3 separate regions of the Homo sapiens genome follow, and regions 1 and 2 are each linked to region 3. The links are contacts of gene promoters, found by promoter capture Hi-C in blood cells and fetal thymus (Javierre and others, 2016). All regions are on one chromosome and are shown on one strand. The core of a region is centred on a gene start or on the middle of the fragment in contact, and the rest is flanking DNA. Distances in the headings are between cores, read along the strand shown. Region 1 overlaps KNL1 (kinetochore scaffold 1). Region 2 overlaps RAD51 (RAD51 recombinase). Region 3 holds the start of RHOV (ras homolog family member V).

The links. The method cuts DNA at HindIII sites, captures the fragments that hold promoters and counts their contacts. A CHiCAGO score of 5 or more calls a contact.
Region 1: a fragment that was not itself captured here is called in contact with the fragment with the promoter of RHOV in region 3 in 1 of 17 cell types (M0 macrophages); the score reaches 5.6 in M0 macrophages.
Region 2: a contact is called between a fragment that was not itself captured here and the fragment with the promoter of RHOV in region 3, in 2 of 17 cell types (M0 macrophages and M1 macrophages). The highest score is 6.5, in M0 macrophages.

The regions. Positions count from the first base shown.
Region 1 is chr15:40,654,117-40,656,816 of GRCh38, forward strand. It overlaps KNL1 (kinetochore scaffold 1), which reads left to right. Exons shown (of 26, transcript NM_144508.5): 22 at 793-861. Among named protein-coding and RNA genes, the nearest start is that of RAD51-AS1, 40 kb to the right of the region's middle. The HindIII fragment of the contact is 3,025 bases long and covers 1-2,700 here.
Region 2 is chr15:40,698,661-40,701,360 of GRCh38, forward strand. It overlaps RAD51 (RAD51 recombinase), which reads left to right. Exons shown (of 10, transcript NM_002875.5): 2 at 97-185; 3 at 2,404-2,541. The coding sequence starts at 99. Among named protein-coding and RNA genes, the nearest start is that of RAD51, 4.8 kb to the left of the region's middle. The HindIII fragment of the contact is 2,216 bases long and covers 153-2,368 here.
Region 3 is chr15:40,872,824-40,875,523 of GRCh38, forward strand. It overlaps RHOV (ras homolog family member V), which reads right to left and starts at 1,411. Exons shown (of 3, transcript NM_133639.4): 1 at 1,109-1,411; 2 at 861-919; 3 at 1-678. The coding sequence starts at 1,316. The coding sequence ends at 235. LOC124903475 (a long non-coding RNA gene) reads left to right here and starts at 919. Exons shown (of 2, transcript XR_007064600.1): 1 at 919-1,100; 2 at 1,487-1,765. RefSeq lists a silencer at 946-1,465. The HindIII fragment of the contact is 13,617 bases long and covers 1-2,700 here.

The DNA of each region.
Region 1 (2,700 bases), core at 199-2,698, 220 kb before region 3:
AAATATGTAACAAAGCATTCAATAAAGAGAAAATAATCAATTCAGGAGACAGTTAACTCTAGAGTCTGGGGGAGCGAGCAGCTATCTCAGCTACCTAAAATGTATTATAGCAATGCTAAAAGCATAACTCATTTTTACTGTATTTATACAATGATAGGAGTTGTAGAGAGATGATAGCCATTTTCCTTATATGATTGCTGAAAATAAAATTATCTTTGCACAGAAGTTAGGGGTTAAAAGAGGAGGCCTTAACAAATATAGCTGTGTACTACCTTTTAAATGTCCTTCAAAGACATACCAATCAATGTAGTTGAACAGTCTCAGGGGAGCCTTTACTAGATACAGAGAATAATGATTCAAGGATAACCCTTCAACTTCCTGTGGAAAAAACTCTGCTACACAGAAGGAGTAGGATTCTAAAGTACTGAGTTTTATGTGACTTCAAATCAGGTAGTTTAAAAAAAAAAAAAAGGCCAGGCACGGTGGCTCATGCCTGTAATCCCAGCACTTTGGGAAGCTGAGGTAGGCGGATCACGAGGTCAGGAGATCGAGACCATCCTGGCTAACATGGTGAAACCCCGTGTCTACTAAAAGTACAAAAAATTAGCCAGGTGTGGTGGCGGGCGCCTGTAGTCCCAGCTACTCAGGAGGCTGAGGCAGGAGAATCGCTTGAACCTGGGAGGCTGAGCTTGCAGTGGGCCAAGACTGCGCCATTGCACTCCAGCCTGGGAGACAAAGTGAGACTCTCTGTCTAAAAAAATTTTTAAAAATCATTATTCTGGTTCTTTCTAGTTGGTTTCCCTTTCCTGGACAAGCGTTATAGGAAGATTGTTGATGTCAATTTTCAATCTCTGTTAGATGGTAAGTAGAAAACATTTAAGCCTCTAAAAATTTGTTGGGGCTGGGCACTATGGCTCATGCCTTTAATCCCAGCACTTTGGGAGGCTGAGGCGGGTGGATCACCAGGGGTCAGGAGTTTGAGACCAGCCTGACTAACATGGTGAAACCCCGTCTCTGCTAAAAATACAAAAACTAGCCGGGTGTGATGGTGCCCTCCTGTAGCCCTAGCTACTCAGGAGGCTGAGACAGGAGAATCACTTGAACCTGGGAGGTGGAGGTTGTGGTGAGCCAAGATTATGCCACTGCAGTCCAGCCTGGCAACAGAGTGAGACCTTGTCTCAAAAATAAAAAATAAGGCTGGGCACGGTGGCTCATGCTTGTAATCCCAGCACTTTGGGAGGCCGAGGAAGGCAGATCACAAGGTCAGAGGCTCGAGACCAGCCTGGCCAACATGATGAAACCCATCTCTACTAAAAATACAGAAATTAGTTGGGCGCGGTGATGGGTGCCTGTAATCCCAGCTACTCAGGAGTCTGAGGCAGGAGAATCGCTTGAACCTGGGAGACGGAGGTTGCAGTGAGCCGAGATTGCGCCACTGCACTTCAAGCTGGGTGACAGAGCAAGGCTCCATCTCAAAAAAAAAAAAAAAAAAAAAGATTTAAAAAAAATTATTACATGCCGGGCATGGTGGCTCACGCCTGTAATCCCAGCACTCTGGGAGGCCTAGGCGGACGGATTACAAGGTCAGGAGATCGAGACTATCCTGGCTAACACGGTGAAACCCCGTCTCTACTAAAAAATACAAAAAAATTAGCCGGGCGTGGTGGCTGGCGCCTGTAGTCCCAGCTACTTGGGAGGCTGAGGCAGGAGAATGGCGTGAACCCGGGAGGCGGAGCTTGCAGTGAGCCGAGATCGCGCCACTGCATTCCAGCCTGGGCGACAAAATGAGACTCCGTCTCAAAAAAAAAAAAAAAAATTATTACTGGGTCTTGAGCAATGATTAATAGTAGCTATTTTCATAATTTAAAAATTACTGTTATGAGCACTTAGTCTGTATCAGGCATGTGTATTACTTAAATTAACACTATGAAGTCCATGCGATTTGTTCCCCATTTTACAAATTAGGAAACTACAGATCAAAAAACTTAAGTATTGTGTCTAGGATCACTTAGGTATTAAAGAAAGCCAGGATTGCTGGGTGCCGTGGCTCACACCTGTAATCCCAGCACTTTGGGAGACCAAGGCGGGCGGATCACTGGAGGTCAGGAGTTCAAGACCAGCCTGGCCAACATAGTGAAACCCTGTCTCTACTAAAAATACGAAGAAATTAGCTGGGCATTGTGGTGTGTGCCTGTAGTCCCAGCTACTCGGGAGGCTGAGGCAGGAGAATTGCCTGAATCCGGGAGGCGGAGGTTGCAGTGAGCTGAGATCATGCCACTGCACTCCAGCCTGGGCAATAGAGTGACACTCCGTCTCAAAAAAAGAAATGAAATCCAGGATTTAAACTCAGGTCTGTGTTACATGTAAACCCACACTCTTACTCAAGTACTGTTTCTATATGTGATAAAGTCTTGAGTTTTTGTAGAAATGTCCTATCTTCACCATACATGTTATAATCATGTTTGAAAATAAAAATGGAGAGAATACATCTGGGCATGGTGGCTCATGCCTGTAATCCCAGCACTTTGGGAGGCCAAGGCGGGTGGATTACCTGACATCAGGAGTTCAAGAGCAGTCTGTCCAAAATGGTGAAGCCCCCTCTCTACTAAAAATACAAAAAGTAGCCGGGTATGGTGGCAGACGCCTGTAATCCCAGCTACTCAGGAGGCTGAGGCAGGAGAATTGCTTGAACTGGGAAGG
Region 2 (2,700 bases), core at 11-2,510, 170 kb before region 3:
AAAGTCTTTTTGATACGACTAGCTAGATAGAAGATGGGGAGAGAGATGCACCTTATTTCTCTAGTGTTTATACTGATAAGCATTTGTATTTTTCAGTAATGGCAATGCAGATGCAGCTTGAAGCAAATGCAGATACTTCAGTGGAAGAAGAAAGCTTTGGCCCACAACCCATTTCACGGTTAGAGGTATGTGGTTAGTTGCTAATTTTGGAATTATATACTAGATTCTTCTACCTAGTGGAAGGTATTACAACCTTTACATAAAATATAGGTTTACTACCAAGGTCAAGACCCAAATTAGACTTTTCAGAAGTGTTGTCAATAATCCTGTGGAAAGGCTGCAGATCATTGCTAAATATGTCTGGCAGGGCCTCTTCCTTTGTCAACAATTCTCTTCCTACTTTATCATTTTTATTTCTGAGAGTTGGACTGTCAGAAACTAAGGCCTAGGATCCCATGGTGGAATCTCTGTGCTGTTTTTGTTTGTTTGTTTGTTTGTTTTTGATGGAGTTTCGCTCTTGTTGCCCAGGCTGGAGTGCAATGGCGTGATCTCGGCTCACCGCAACCTCTGCGTCCCAGGTTCAAGCGATTCTCCTGCCTCAGCCTCCCAAGTAGCTGGAATTACAGGCATGAGCCACCACACCCAGCTAATTTTATATTTTTAGTAGAGACAGGGTTTCTCCATGTTGGTCAGGCTAGTCTCGAACTCCTGACCTCAGGTGATCCACCCTCTTTGGCCTCCCAAAGTGCTGGGATTACAGGCATGGGCCACTGCGCCCAGCCTGTGCTGTTTTTTTGTTTGTTTTTTAAGAAATGGGTCTTAACTGTGTTGACCATGTTGATCTTGAACTCCTGGCCTCAAGCAGTCCACCTGCCTTGGCGTCCCAAACTGCTAGGATTACAGGCATGAGCCACCATGCCTGGCCAAAGCATCCTGTGCTATTTGCACTAAGTATGAAAGTGCTGTTCTGGGAATTATAGCGGCCTGGACCAGTTATGCAAGGAAGACAGGGAAGCACCTTCTCTCCATTAACCTAGATTTGTGCTGTCAGCTGTCATTGGCAGAGAGAAGGGTGTGGTGGTGTTATGGTATAAGAGACAAGCTCCAATTCAGGATTCTGCACAAGAACATTAAGCACCAGAGCTGAGGCCTTACACTATTTCTGCCCATTGTATAGAGACTGCCCTGTGAGTGCAGCTGATTTGGGCTAAGTAGGAGGAAAGCAGAGAAAGACTTGATTCTTCTGTCTCTTTTTTTCATATTTCCCATCTCTGACTAATCTTCAAGACTCTAGAAGTTAGGAGTGCAAAAGGCTAATAAAAAAAAAAGACTCTAGAAGTTACTTAAATGGATTTGTGATAAACATTTGAAAGTTCAGAGTCATAACTTCTGGTGCCATGAGCATCCTTATACTCAAACATGCATATTGCTTAAATATTAATAGCAGACATGGCTTATGTTGGCAAACTAATCTCTCCCCTCTTCTAAATTCTCCCAACCCCTGAATGCACCCACATTCACCTACTAACTCATGTTTTCCCAGAAGTCATGGTTTTGGTGGCTAATGAAACCAAAGCTGACTTGAATATAGGAAGAAAGAGGTGTCTTTGGGTGGTTTGTTTTGAGAAGAGGTATAAAAGTCCCTGACAAAAAGTAGTTTTCCTCACTGTTAATGTCAGTTGTTAGAGCAGAGCTTTCTGGTCATTGTTCAACAAAAAGTATTGACAGGCCAAGATAGTGCTCTTTATATTCTGAGCAGCCTTATCTATTTACCCTACCATAGTGTAAAAATACAGTTTTTTATGTGTGCTTGATGTGGAAAGTGTTGAGCAACACTGTCTTAAAGTGGTCTTGTAGGGCCCAAGGTCTCAGAGATCATTTAGGGTCACAAAAAAAGGTTGGGAGTTACTTTTTAATTCCAATTGCTAATAGGAGTTCTTTTTAATGTACATGGCTTAGTGCTAGTTTAAAATTATTGATTTTGATAATGAAAAGGTTGTTAATTTGTTATTAAGTACCTCATATATAGGGCTCATTTTTCAGCTTTTGCATATAATAACAGTAGGCTCTCTGTATCTCCGGATTCTGTATCAGCAAATTCAACAAACTACGTATCAAAAATTCAATCAACTACATATCAAAAAAAAGTATACAGGAGGATGTACATAGGTTATATGCAGGTAATACGCCATTTTATATAAGGGACTTGAGCATTGTTGGATTTTGTTATCTGCTGGGGGTCCTGGAACCAACTTCCCATCTCCCCCCGCCCCCCCAAGGATTTCAAGGGACAGTTGTATTACAAGTCTTCAAGCACCTCTGTGAAGTATGTAGGACACATAACATCTGTGTTAGATTAGAGAACTAAAGCTTAAATTTATCCATGGTTTTCTTCATTTGCAGCAGTGTGGCATAAATGCCAACGATGTGAAGAAATTGGAAGAAGCTGGATTCCATACTGTGGAGGCTGTTGCCTATGCGCCAAAGAAGGAGCTAATAAATATTAAGGGAATTAGTGAAGCCAAAGCTGATAAAATTCTGGTAAGTACTGCTTACTTAACCTAGGGAGGCATTAGTGGGAATAGTACAAAAGGGAATGTAGTGAAAGACTTCTTCCTTCTATCTCTTATTCTTCGGTCATCTCATTATCCTTTCCAGGGGTGACTGTTACCTGTTTCTTTTCTTCTTTTCTTTTCTTTT
Region 3 (2,700 bases), core at 161-2,660:
GGTTTTTTTCTGTGAGCTTTGACTGGAGAAATCCAAATCAGAGCCTTCCCTCCTAGGCTCACCCAGGCATATCAGAGTGGGCAGTTAGAGGCCCATGTCCCCCGAGTGTTCAGAAGGGAACTGAGTCCTATGAGGTGGCCAGGCCCTGCCAGTAGCTGCCGCAAAGGCCCGGGTGCCCCAGGTCTCAGAAGTCTTTGGCCTCCTGCCTACTACTTGCTATGCAGCCATAGCTGCTCAAACGAAGCAGAAGAACTTCTTCCAGCGGCAGCGGGAGAGGGTGCGCACACCTTTGGCATTCAGTTTCTTCTCCAGCCGGGCTTTGTGCTCAATGGCACTGAGAATAGCCGAGTCAAATACTTCCTTCAAGTTCTTCTGCGTCAAGGCTGAGCACTCAAGGTAGCAGCAGGCTCGGATCTTCTCGGCCAGACCCTGAGCCTGGGGTTGGGGCACGGGGCCCTCCCGGCCCCCCTGGTCCAGCTGAATTAGTACGTTGACATCGTCCCTCAGGTCGGCCTGGGTGCCCACCAGCAGCACAGGCGCCTGGGGGTTGTGCGTGCGGATCTCGGGCAGCCATTTCTCTGTGATGTTTTGAAAGGAGCTGGGCTGCACCACGCTGAAGCACGCCAGGAAGACATCGGTATCCGGGTAGCAAAGGGAACGAAGTCGGTCAAAATCCTCCTGGGGTGGGAAGGCCAGGTGGTAAGGATTAGCCCCCCGACACATGGAATCCATTTCTCACCCGGGGCTGGAAACCTGAGACTCCAAGAGCCCAAGGCTTTCTCCATTTGCTCCATATGGGGTCCTCCCAGCCTCCAGCCCATCTCCCCGCAGACCAGTAGAGGCCGCGCCCAGCTTCTCACCTGTCCCGCTGTGTCCCAGAGCTCAATGCGCACCGGAGCTCCATCCACCAGGACTTGCACTGCAGGGGCGGGGCGGGGAGAGCCTGAGTTAGGAAGAGCGTCCTGGGCCGCACCAGCGCCACCTCGGGGCCTGCTCCAGTCTCCTCCCCGGGGTCCTCTGCGCCCTCCCGCCGAGACGCCCGCCCCAGCTCCCCGGTGCACAGCCCCGCCGCAGCCACGCGGCCGCACGGGCGATTGAACGTACGTACCAGAGAAGGTGTCCAGCGCAGTGGGCCGGTAGCGCGCGGGGTACCCATTGCAGGTGTAGCTGACGATGAGGCTGCTCTTGCCCACGGCGCCGTCGCCCACCAGCACGCACTTGATGCCCAGCTCTGGGGGCGCGCTACGCCGCCGCGGGGGAGGGGTCGGGGCCCGGAGCGGGGGCGGCTCGGCCTCGCTCAGCTCCCGCGGCGGCATGGCCCGCTCCGGGGGCAGCAGAGGGGCCAGCCCGGGTCTCGGCTTCGCTGCGCTCGGTGAAGCAGGTCCCGCTGGCTGCCTCTGACTGAATGGGTCCAGGCTGGGCGAGTCGGCCCAGCGCTACCAGCGGGTTTGTGTAGGGCCCCGCCCATCTCATCTACATGTTTCAGGCGGCCCCGGACCCCACCCATCGGCGAAGATCTCCCGCGGCCAGGCACCCTGCGAGGCCAGGCGAGGAGGAGGAAAACCCCGGGAGGAGGAAAGGCAGGCAGAAAGCTGGAGCTCCAAGAGTCACGCAGGTACAAGGACAAAGAATCGTCAAATGAGAATACCAAGAAGAGATAGACATCCATGATTTATTGTTAGGAGGAAGAAGCAAGTTGCAGAACATATAATACAGTATGTTCAGGTTAAACAAGTGTGCAAATTAAACCTTGTTCAACTTACAAGAAACAACTCTATGCATATGTTTGCATGAGTATTAAAAAGTTGGGATAATTTTATTAATGAAAGAATTACTTTTTTAAATATTGAGGCTGAGAGCAGTGGCTCATGCCTGTAATTCCAGCGTTCTGGGAGGCTAAGCCAGGAGGATCACTTGACCCCAGGAGTTCAAGGTTACAGTGAGCTATAATAGTGCCATTGCACTTCAGCATGTGTGACAGATCCTAAAAACAAACAAACAAACAAAAAACCTGTTGACCCCTGAACAAAGCGGGAATTATGGGCGAGAAACCCTGTGCAGTCAGCCGAAAATCCCTATATAACTTTTGACTACCCCAAAATTTAACTATTAATAGCCTGCTGTTGCTGGGCTCCGTGGCTCACGCCTGTAATCCCAGCACTTTGGGAGGCCGAGGTGGGTGGATCACCTGAGGTCAGGAGTTCGAGACCAGCCTGGCCAACATGGTGAAACCCCGTCTCTATTAAAAATACAAAAAATTAGCCAGGTGTGGTGGCGGGTGCCAGTAATCCTAGCTACTCAGGAGGCTGAGGCAGGAGAATCACTTGGACCTGGCAGGTGGAGGTTGCAGTGAGCCAAGATTGGGCCACTCCACTCCAGCCTGGGTGACAGAGCAAGACTCTCTCTTAAAAAACAAAAACAAAAAACCCCCCAAAAAAAGTAGCCAAGCATGGTGGTGTGCATCTGTAATCCCAGCTACTCGGAGGCTGAGGTGGGAGGATGGCTTGAACCTGGGAGGTGGAGGTTGCAGTGAGCTGAGATCATGCCATTGCACTCCAGCCTGGGCAACAGAGCCAGACTTTGTCTCAAAAATAAATAAATAAATAAATAAAAAATAGGCTGGGCGCAGTGGCTCACACCTGTAATCCCAGCATTTTGGGAGGCTGAGGCGGGCAGATCACATCACGAGGTCGGGAGATC